3 separate regions of the Homo sapiens genome follow, and all the other regions are linked to region 1. Evidence: promoter capture Hi-C in human tissues and cell types (Jung and others, 2019). All regions are on one chromosome and are shown on one strand. Each heading gives the region's core, a stretch centred on a gene start or on the middle of the fragment in contact. The rest is flanking DNA. Distances are from core to core; before and after follow the strand shown. Region 1 holds the start of SEZ6L (seizure related 6 homolog like). Region 2 overlaps SEZ6L (seizure related 6 homolog like). Region 3 overlaps SEZ6L (seizure related 6 homolog like).

What was found. Contacts are between HindIII fragments. The study calls those that stand out against the background at their distance.
Region 2: a fragment that was not itself captured here is called in contact with the fragment with the promoter of SEZ6L in region 1 in 4 of the 25 tissues and cell types used here (H1 embryonic stem cells, aorta, mesendoderm cells and 1 more).
Region 3: a fragment that was not itself captured here is called in contact with the fragment with the promoter of SEZ6L in region 1 in 3 of the 25 tissues and cell types used here (H1 embryonic stem cells, IMR-90 fibroblasts and mesendoderm cells).

Annotation. Positions count from the first base shown.
Region 1 is chr22:26,167,546-26,171,213 of GRCh38, forward strand. It overlaps SEZ6L (seizure related 6 homolog like), which reads left to right and starts at 1,917. Exons shown (of 17, transcript NM_021115.5): 1 at 1,917-2,218. The coding sequence starts at 2,125. It overlaps LOC105372971 (a long non-coding RNA gene), which reads right to left and starts at 1,689. Exons shown (of 6, transcript NR_188586.1): 1 at 1,458-1,689. RefSeq lists a silencer at 1,940-2,069 and an enhancer at 2,896-3,668. The HindIII fragment of the contact is 7,592 bases long and covers 165-3,668 here.
Region 2 is chr22:26,261,279-26,264,946 of GRCh38, forward strand. All of the region lies in intron 1 of SEZ6L (seizure related 6 homolog like), which reads left to right. Among named protein-coding and RNA genes, the nearest start is that of SEZ6L-AS1, 17 kb to the left of the region's middle. The HindIII fragment of the contact is 4,858 bases long and covers 1-3,668 here.
Region 3 is chr22:26,236,315-26,239,982 of GRCh38, forward strand. All of the region lies in intron 1 of SEZ6L (seizure related 6 homolog like), which reads left to right. Among named protein-coding and RNA genes, the nearest start is that of SEZ6L-AS1, 8.5 kb to the right of the region's middle. RefSeq lists an enhancer at 3,278-3,563. The HindIII fragment of the contact is 5,989 bases long and covers 1-3,668 here.

The sequences.
Region 1 (3,668 bases), core at 667-3,166:
ACAAGTTCTCACTTATAGGTGGGAGCTAAATGATGAGAGCACACAGACACATAGAGGGGAACAACACACACAGAGGCCTACCAGAGGGTGGAAGGCAGGAGGAGGGAGAGGATCAGAAAAAAATTACTATTGAGTACCAGGCTTAATACCTGGTTGGTGAAATCATCTGTACAACAAACTCCCATGACACAAGTTTGCACACATAACAAACCTGCACAAGTACCCCTGAACCTAGGAATTAAAAATAGTTTCCTTGCCTCCAAGTATGGAGCTAAACTACCTCTTCGTTTTTCTCTCGCTCGCTTTCTTCCCTTTCCCCTCCTCCTCCATCTTCCTTGCTTCTTTAGGTTTCCATTGAACAAGTCTCACTGAGCACCCGCTGCATGCCTGCATTATACTATACAGAGCCTGAGCGTATAGCCACAAACAGGCAAGGTCATTCCACAGAGAGCTGGCAGCCTCATACAGTAAAGCATGGAGTGCTTCATCTTCTCCAAAGGAGAAATCAGCACTCCTGCATCCCTGCCTCAGCCACCTTCTTTATAAAAGCCAGTTGGGTTTACTGCCAGGAATGGAAACCTCTTGCAGCTGAAGATAGGATTTTATGGGGGGGCTCTCTGTCCCCCAAAGCCTGAGGCAGGTCTGGGCCTATAGTCAGTGGCCTGTAAAAGAGCATTGTTTGAGTGAGTAAATGGGGAAGCTCTGGGTGTGGAGCGTCTTCTGAAACCCTGGGCCAGAGTGCTTCTCCTTCCCTCCTCCATCCAGTGTTCACCTCCCCCACCCATTCTTTCTAGGGACTCCCGGCTCCACCACGCTGCTAAAGACATATTCCTCCCCCTGTTGCTGCCTGCAACCTTCTCTCCATCTGCTCCCTCTGCCTGTTCAGGCTGCAGTGTGTAGATAGTATGGCAAGGTAGGGTAGGGGGAGGAGGACAGCTTCTAAATTGGGTGAGAGGCCTGTAAAGCCTGACCGGTCTGCCAAGGCTACGCAGGGAGAGACAGTCAGTCTCCAGGACTGTGCATAAGCTTGTCCCCACCTAGCTCTCTGCCAATGTCTGTCCCCAAGTATCTGTTTATCTCCCTCATTGATTGTCCCTCACTACCTCTATTTGTGGAGAAAAGACTTTGCTTGAGAATCAGGCCTGGGCAAGAATGCTGCAGAGGTGGGCCTTGTAGTCCTGCTCAGATAGGGAAGCGGGTACAGGAAGAGGCAAGCGGCTGACCTGAGAGGAAGCCTCGCAGCGCTAGTGCCCTGCCGGCAGTGGGGTTATGGGAGACAGGGCTCAGATTAAAAAGTGGAGGTGGATCTTAATTTAGAGTTCGTGATTGGGCTTCAGAGGGGTCCAGACCCCCTCGTGTTAGATGCACGATTTTGTGGCTATGTGTAGTGTTCTAGTAGATTCACAGCTGTCACCAGATCCACAGAGTTACAGACTTTCTAGGTTATGGGGACTCACTTTGGAAGCAGTGAGGCCCTGGCGGGGAAGCAGGCTGGCTGGATCCCAGAGGGCTCTGGAAAGAACTGGAACTGGGATGTATCTGGAAGGCTGGGCAGGCAATGGAAAGCTCCGGGCTGCTCATAAGCTCGGTTTCCAGGGCTCCATCTCACCGTCTGGAAAATGGTCCGGGTGCTCTCCAGCCTGGCCTGGCCAGGCAGAGCTGCTGGGAGCGTCAGCAGGGAGAGAAAACGCTCGGCTCCCAGGACGCAAGGGGAATTGGCGTTAAACTTTGCAGGGCCGACGGGCCGGCGGCCAGAGGAGGCGGCTGGCACCCCCGGCGCCGCCGCGGCCCCTCCAGCTCACTGCCCGCTCGCCCGCCCCCTCCCTCCCTGCACTCGCTCGGCACAGACTCGGCCCCAGCCCCCTCCCTCCTCCCGCTCGCTCCACGCTCGTTCGCTCGCTCGCCGGCTCCTCCTCACTCGCCCGCCCGCGCCCGGCGCAGCTCGGCCAGAGCGACCGCGGGGCTGAGCGCGCGTCCGCCCAGGGGGCTCCGGAAGCTGCCCCGGCCCGCGGCCTCCTCCCTCGCTCCCGCTTCCCCTTTCTCGCTCACCGCCGCCCTCCTTCCCCAGCTCCCTCGCCGTCCGCCCGCCCCACAGCCAGCGGCTCCGCGCCCCCTGCAGCCACGATGCCCGCGGCCCGGCCGCCCGCCGCGGGACTCCGCGGGATCTCGCTGTTCCTCGCTCTGCTCCTGGGGAGCCCGGCGGCAGCGCTGGAGCGAGGTAAGCGCCCCGAGGGGCGGGGCGGGCAGGGGGCAAAGTTGCCGGGAGAGCGGGGCAGCCAGGGGTCGGGGCTGACCAGGGCGACTCAGGCACCACCCGCCGGGATGGGAAGCGGTGGTGGCTGTCCAAAATCGGGGCTAGGAACCGCACGTCCCCTTGGCCCGGGCTGATGGGAGTGTGGAGGCGGGGATGTGTTGAAGGACTCGGGCGCTTCCCTGCTTCGGCTGCGGGCTCCCTTTCGGTCTTCCCCGGCTGCGGGGCTGATTCTCCTTTGCAGCCAAAGAGGTTCTCCTTGGAGTGGGGTCGCCTCCAAACCCCAAATTCCCGGCGCTTCTCTGCAACCGCACCCGGGGCTAGGTGCCAGATAATTATCTTCCTCTCCGGGAGAGGACAGGAAGGGGGGTGAGAAGCTGACCCACCCTGCAACTGAGGACTAGACTCAAACAGTGCATTTGCCGCTCCCCCCGACACCACAGAAACCCTTGACTCCTTTGGTTCAGGCTACCCCGAGGGTCTGTGTTCCTGGATCGATCTCAGCCAAGCGTCAGGATACCGGACTTGGGTGTGGCTTTCGCTAGAGGCCGGTGGAGGGGGCTGAGGGCTCTGAGAACTTGGTAGGGGAGGGAGAAGAGATGTTAGTTAGCAGTTGGGAACCTGAACGGGCTCCCCTCTACTCTCTCCCCTACTGCCTAGCATCTCTGATCACTGTTAGGAATGGGGGGTGAGGGGTGTTAGTTTCATCTACCACGTGTTTGTTGAAGGGGAAGAGGGGCCCAAATTTAGCAGAGAATGACAGCTCCTCTTTCTCAGACCTGGAACCATACCCTCTCTCCACCCCGGTAAGGTACCCCAGGAAAAGTTATGGGTGGGGGAGAGGGCCAGATAGAGAGAGGGGTGCAACGCCTAACTCACCCAAAGCTAACCCTCAGAGCTTCGGGGGTTTTCTCAGGCACCTAGGAGACCCGAAAATCAATGGGAGGGTTAGTTGGCCACAGGACCCGGCCTTCTTGCAAGGTCCCAGAAATGCGCTCCTCACGTGTAAAAAAGCAGACAGCTGCAGGGTCTGCCCAGGCTGAAGACAGAGGGAGCGCAGGCACTATGCTTATCTGGGGCTCCGCCTCTGTCATTTGCACCGTCTTGACTCGGAGTTGGGGGACAGGCGGTGTTCTTCTCCGGGGAGTTCTGGACCCCCAGCGCGCGCACCTGCTTTCAGCACCAAAGGCCCTGGACAGCTCTCAGCTCCATGGGCCCTGGCTCTGGGTCCCTTTCCCTTCAACCCTTCCCGGTGGCCTGGAGTGCCCCCCTCAGCATAAATCAGGCATTTTATCCCCCATCTCCCCGTCTTTTTAAATGTAGAGCCCAGAGTGCAGAGCAAAGGAAATTGTTCATCACCTTTTGTTTAACAAAGCATATCATTGAAGAACCCCCACCCCTTTTTTATGGGGCAATA
Region 2 (3,668 bases), core at 845-3,344, 94 kb after region 1:
TTTGGGTTCTTGGTCATGAAGTCTTTGCCTAAGCCAATGTCTAGAAGGGTTATTCGATGTATCTTCTAGAAGTTTTATAGTTTCAGGTCTTAGATTTAAGTCCTTGATCAATGTTGAGTTGATTTTTGTATAAGGTGACTGATGAGGATCCAGTTTCATTCTCCTACATGTGACTTGCCAATCATCCCAGCGCCATTTGTTGTGTAGGGTGTCCTTTCCCCACTTTATGTCTTTGTTTGCTTCAACAAACCATTTATTGACCACTTACTGTACTGCATGGATTCAGGAAACAGAGGGTATAGAGATGAATCATAGTCCCTAACCTTGTGAAATTTACAATCTAATGAGGAAGACAGACTCTGAACAAGGAGTTACAAGAGAAATACACAGAGGAGACAAGTAGTGTGTGCCTACTAAGCATAAAGTACAGATGCTGTAAAAAGACAAAATTGGCCAAGGTGAGGTCTCTCCTTTGAAAGAATAGAGTTGGGAGGGTAGATAAGCGTGAATAAAATGGGGATGAAATAATAAAAAGTGTGGTTCAGGCAAAATTGATACGAGTATTTTGGAGAAGTCAGATTGGACTGAGATTATTGGAGGTAGCTTTAAGGAGGAGGTGGGATTGGTCAAGGAGGAGCAACAGAGGAGACCAGTGGATTTCAGCTGAGTGATCATCCAGAAGTGAGGAAGAGTTAGCCTCCACGATTGGGAAACAGAGGGAAATAAGGAGTTTGTTTGACCCAGCCCTAGTGGGTCTTGAAAGCTTAGTCAAACCATTTGGGTTTTCTCTTGTTTCCAGGGTAGCAAGTGAGTTCTATGAGACAAAAGAATTCTGGAAATAATCTGTTGGCCAGAGGTATAATGGGAATATATATATATATTTAATATATTGATATACAAACAAATATATATTTATATTGATATATAAAAGATATATATATGCACCTTTTATATATTGATATATTTTATCTATCTATCTATCTATCTATCTATCTATCTATCTATCTCTTTTAAAAAGAAATACATGGCCCTTCTTGTGAGAAGAAGAACATATATGGCAGGTGTGAGACTCAACTGCAGCACATCTCCTCATGTAAATCTGCAGAAATCTTTGAGGGAAAAAGGGAAAGATATTAATCCAGATGTGATTAGGAACCAGGATGTAACATACAAACTCATTCATTTATTCTTGTATTCAAGTATTTAGTACATAGCCTTTTCTATGTGCCCATATTGCAGCTGCTGGTGCTAGTTTTATAAACGCAAATACCATTCCCATTCTCAGGCTTCTTTCCTAGTGTGAAGGACAGACGTAAGTGTTACCAGCACAGGGAGCTCAGGGAGCTTGTAATGGGTGACAAAACTAGTCTAGAAAGCCAGAGAGGTGATATTTAAGCAGAGAACCTGAAATCCAGGTAAGAAAGACTAGCCAGACGGGAGAAGGAGGACCAGCATGTGCATGGGTCGATGGGGGAGCTTCTGAAAGCCCAGGACATGAAGCTCAAATTCTTTATCAAGAGAAACCTTGGTCCCTAAAGGGAGACCACCATGAGTTCACTAGACTTTCAAAGCAAATCACAAGGGTGACGAAATGGTTTGAGCACAGGGCTGAGAACTTTGATTTCTTTTCAATTCACAAAATTACTAAGCTCATATTTTGAGCAGCTACATCCATTTTCCCTTCTTCCCATAGTCTTGCCCTGCTATATTGACTACCATTCAGTCTCAGAATTAATGTCATTTCCACAAAGAAGCCCCCAGGAGCACCTAGCCCTGGTTCCCCTAAATTCCTATGGAAAGGACTCTTGGTATCACTCAGCACTTTCATGCTTCCCATGGTCTACCGGGTGCCACATGCCACATTAACTCCTCCCCTGGACTCATTTCCACAACCACCCAAGAGGGGGAAGTTATTACCTGCAGAGTTTACAGTCCTGCATTTCAAATCCAACACCACTGCCTACTGTGTAACCTGGAGGCAAGTATGTTTACTTCTCTGAGCCTTCTTGTCGTCATTTGTAAAACAAGCCTTGCAGAAGTAGCCCCCACCCGTCAGGGTGCATGTGACGGCTAATGGAGATATGCAAGTGCGCTTAGCACTGTGTCTGCTCATCCATGTCTCAATATCTCTGGATGAGACATCAAGACTCAGATAAGTAAAATAAAGCATCCAAGGTCACCTCATGTGTAAGTGGAAGATGCTGGATTTGAATGAAAAGTTCTGTGACTCCAAAATCCACATTCTTTCCATCCTGCCATAATGCCTTTATTGACATCCTTTTATCTTCTCAAATCACACATTTAAGGAATACAGACCCTACGTCCAGCTCTGCACAAATGTTGTCCCAATTCCCAACGATCATCTGAGATAGACAGTTTCCCTTTTATGCAGTGGCCTGTAGGGCAAATCTGATCTTCCCAAAGCTGGTCCTTACTCAGCATTTACAGTGCAGGAAAATCTCCACTCCACCTGGTTGCTCAGGCAGAAGCCTGGGCATCCTCCTTGATCTCTTCCTTCTCTCAGCCTTCTCCCGTCTCTATCCAACTCAATCCCAAGACTTCTTGACTCTAAACAGATCTGTTTTAAATCTTGTTCACCTTTTAGTCCCCACAGCTAGCCATGCCTCATCATCTCTCACCTGGACTGATCTTTTTGCTTCCACCCTTAATCCCTCTCAAAGCTCCAGCCAGAAAGTAGAGTGATCTTTGCAATTCTAGTGATGTCCCCTCTACCTCACGTGTGAAACCCCCCATTGCTTTTGACAGAGCATCTAAATCCTGCAACATGGACAGCTAAGATTATCGTTGGCCATCTCTCAGATCAAGGATTCCAGTCACAAAACTTGGTGTTAGCAACACAAAGAGTAAACTCAGGGTCATTCCAATTCTGGAATCTTGGCAGATTCTGAGGCTGCATTTGCTAGGGCAAGCACTGCCTGGGAGGATGTGAATATTTGGTAACTGTGAGAGTTCTGAGGTTGACAACAGAGCACAGGCTTTGTCAGGGCCCTCTCTGGTCAGAGGCACATGGATCAGGAAAAGCTTCTGCCCCGATCTTGTCACTTTGTAGCTGTGTGACCTTTGGCAAATCACTTAACCTCTCTGAGCTTCAGTTCTGTTTATTATGCAAATACAAATGAGGAAGATGGATGAAACAAGCTGTATGACTTCCAGAATTTAATGCCAAAATGGGTCATTAGATAGAACCCATGAAATTATCAAAATTTGACCTTTTTAAAGTTTACCTATTAAAATACATGGTAATATCATATGTTTATACTTCTCTAAAGGAACAGACATTTGCCAGGGCTGGCAAACTTTTTCTCTAAAGGGCCAAATAGTAAATATTTTATGCTTTGATGGTTATTTAGTCTCTGGGGCATCTATTCAACTCTGCATGAAAGCATCCTTAGACAATACATAAAAAGAAAAAGCAGGACCATGTTCCAGTGAAACTTAATTTACAAAAACAGGAGGAAAGCCAAATTTGGCCAGTGGGCTGTAGTTTGCCAATGCCTGCTTTAAACCCATGGATTTTCTGTTATCACAGGAAGGGGAAATGATTGGGATGTGAAGTTTGGAGTTTTAATGGAGCTTCTGCAAGTGCTTAGCAAGCAGCAAATATGAGTTTATTTCCTCCCTTCCTTGTATCTTCTTCCAAGAAAAGC
Region 3 (3,668 bases), core at 843-3,342, 69 kb after region 1:
AATTGCTTGAGAACTTGGGTATTATTGAAACTCCCTCATGCCTGAATGATGTATGACTCTCACAGTGTGGCTCAGCCATTGCCAGCGGCTCTCCAAAACAGACCCTGTCTTATTTTTTATTCCATTTATTTATGCATTTGGTCGATCTCTCTGGGAAGGTAAGTTTTTAAAATACTGGGTATGGAAACAGGAGATAGTCAAACTTTCCGAGCCTGTGGACTTGATTGATTGAGGTTGTGACATTTATTTCCAAAGCATCCTTCAAAAAGTTGGTTATAGACTAAACCACCAGTTTCAAATCTGGGGTCCCCCTGACTCTAATAGTCTTTGAAAGGAGTGATGGGCAGGGAGAGGAGGGGGCTGAGAGAGAAACGAAGTGTTTTGAAAACTCTAATGGAGATTCTACTTAGCAAAACTAAGGCTGAATGTGCTAGCTAAAAAGGTCAGGTTTTTCTGGCTTAAAATCAATCAGTAATACCTGCAGGATGACATCCTGACCATGGCCTCTGAGCCTCAGCTTGGTGTGGCTACCATTAGCCTCTCCTCTGCCTTCTGTCCATGCAGAAGCCCCCATACACAACAGTCCCCCTAACACACCAGCCTTATTCATATCCAGAACCCTCAACCAGAACCTGTCTCTGCTCCCCCTTTCATTCTCTGCCTCGCTCTCAGTCTTCCCACTCCCAGAAGCTGCCACTGACCATCCAGGCTGGGCTAGCTGCCAGGGAGTCCTAGGCAGTGGGATGTTGAGTCACACAGGGATAGGTTCAAATCCAGGCTTAGCTGCTCAACTCGAGGTGTGACTTCCCCACTTCCCCTCCCTGAGCCTCAGTTTCCCTGTGTGTCAAACAAGGATAATCAAGTTTCTACCTAATATGGTTGTCATGAGAACTATTACGTAAAGCTTCTTAGCACTGACTCGCTGCTGAGTAAGCTCTAATTCACGTTAGCCACTGCTTCATTCCTTCAATTACACGCCTGTTTCCCACAATGAGCAGGGACCAGGTCTTTTGCCTATTCTCAGGTTCTGGTGCAACGTCTCACAAATAGGAAACTCCCAATAAAATGTTTGCATGTAGAAATCCAAAGATGTCAGAGTGGAAGCCAGAGCCACTTATACAGTGGATAAACCTGGCAAGTTATTTCACCTCTCTGTGCCTCAGTTTCTTCATCTATAAGATGGGTATCCTGATGATACCTACCTGTTGGGTTGTTAGGAGGATGAAGTGAGTTCATATATGCAAAGTGCTTGGAACAAAGTAAACACTACACCAGTGTTGCTCTTATTGTTTTACTAAAACCAAGGAACTGAGTGATTTATTTGTTCACCAATACAGTGTGGAAGACAAAGCACATTTTACTGTGGACAATGCATAGTGGGTGGGTGGATATTAATGATGAAATGGTTAGGGCTACTGAGGCAGCCTCATCTGCCACCCACCCCACCCCACCTGCTCCTAGGCCTCCAAGCCTGTGAAGGTGGGGAATAATGATTTGGATTTTTTTTTTAATCAGCAGAGCACAAGTGTGCTATTTCACATGCCGGCTGTTTAAGTGTACACCTAGTTACAGCTGACTGCCTTGGATGATTGGTTGAGAGGGCTGAGTTCCCGTTTGTCCCCAATCAATCTGGAAACTGAAAAGGAGCCAGAATATTCATTTTCCACCATCAAGCCTGCAGCCCAGGATTATTGTTGATAAAGGAGCTGTGGAACCCAAGTTCCCCGGGGGAGATGGAAGAGTAAACATCTTACTGATATCCCAGGGCAGTGGATGAACAGAGGTCGGGATTTGAGCAAATCATGTCCCTATTATTAATTAAAGGGGCAGGGCATTGGTCAGAGCAGGCAGAAGGGCAAAGGGGCTAAGGAATAGCTGTGGGCCCCATGCAGTTGATGAAAAGGTTGTGTCCTAGAAGGGTTTAGCCTGAAGGGCTGCGTAGGCATTCAGGCTGGTATTTTGTACGGACCCACTGTGAGCCACTACGGGGCAAAGCACTCAGGAGGGAAACACAGAAGGATGTGCAAGAACTAAAAATATGCATTCCATCTGGAAGAAGACAAAAGTTGAGGAACCGTGTTTATGAAGATGGCCTCATGACAAGATGGCATTCATTCAACCACTCCTTCATCCACTTCAAAACTGTTGATTAGCACCTGTGTTGAGCCAGGCAGTTCCGATCCCTTGCGGATGTCAAATAGGAGTAAAACGCAGGCACTGCTTCCCAGGAGACAGCAGCATAAGTGGCCAGATAAAGAAAGTACATAAATAATAACAGCTGTAGCAATAATAGCAAAAATAGTAATACCTGCTGTTTTTTGGGCACCAACAATAAGCCAGGCTTCGCATAAGTTATTTCATTCAATATTCTCCATTGCTTAATGAGATGATAGGTCCTATTTTTACCCTGAGTTTGCAGATGGAAAAGCTGAGGCATGGAAATCGTTAGTCACTTGACTGAGGTTCATGCAGTTAGGAAGGAACCATGATTCAAACCAGTTCCTTCCAACTTAAACCCCTGCTGGTCACACTAGGCTGCTCTGCCTCTCGAATAACTAGAACAACATGTTGTAACTGCTGGGTTGAAGCTGCAGAAAGTCCAGTGTGACTTTAGAAGTGTAACTGGGCCTCTACATAGTGGCTCAACCCTGTAATCTCAACACTTTGGGAGGCCAAGGTAAGAGGATCACCTGAGGCCAGGAGTTCAAGACTAGCCTAGGCAACATAGCAAGACCCCATCTCTACAAAAAATTTAAAAAATTAGCAGGGCATGATGTCATGTGCTTGTAGTCCCAGCTACTTGGGAGGCTGAGGCGGGAGGATTACATGAATCCAGGAATCTGATGATGCAGTGAGCCATGATCGGGCCACTGCTCTCCAGCCTGGGCGGCAATGTGAAACCCTGTCTCAAAAAAAGGAGGGGGAGCATCTGGCCAGCTGGGGGGCAGGGTGGAGTGGAGAGGGCTGTGGCTTTAGGTCCCCTATCCCCAGCACACACCTCAGCATTTGCTCATAGTAGATGGTCAAGAAGCACTTGCCAGTTAGCCAGCAAGTTCTTTGGAAGCCTTCTCAAGCATCATCAGACAGGTTCTGCACCCTCTTGTTCAATGCTGTTCACAAAGCAGCATTTTATCCAGTGAGACCATGAAAAGGGATTGTGGGAATCTTCATTTTGTATAGAAGGAACTGCAACTAGCGAGAAGGAGAATCCACACCTAAATCCAAGCCTCCAGTACTCTGAAACCAAAGTTCTTTCCCTCAGCCTTGGAGCCTCTGGGAGGACTGATTCAAGATGAGACCCCAGACCCCTGACTCCAACCCCAAATCCTTCTAACTCCACCTGCTACCTCTTCCTCAGATCCAAGGGGCAACTTATCTTCCCCTGGTTTCTTATCAGCATGGAACAGCTGTGGTTTTCTGACTCACAGAGCCGCTGAGGTTGTAAAACATTCTCTTTTCACTTTCCATGCTGGCCAAATGCATCCTGAACCTGCTGGCGTGACCTTCTGTTGCTGCATGCAGGCCCAAGCACAAAGCCATTCATTTTGTATTCATTCTCTCCCAACCCCAATCCCCTCTGCCATCCCCCCACAACCGCACACAGCCCCCTCCACCCGCACCTTCACCTCACCCTTGGCTTAACTCAGAGAATTCAACTTCCCTCAACA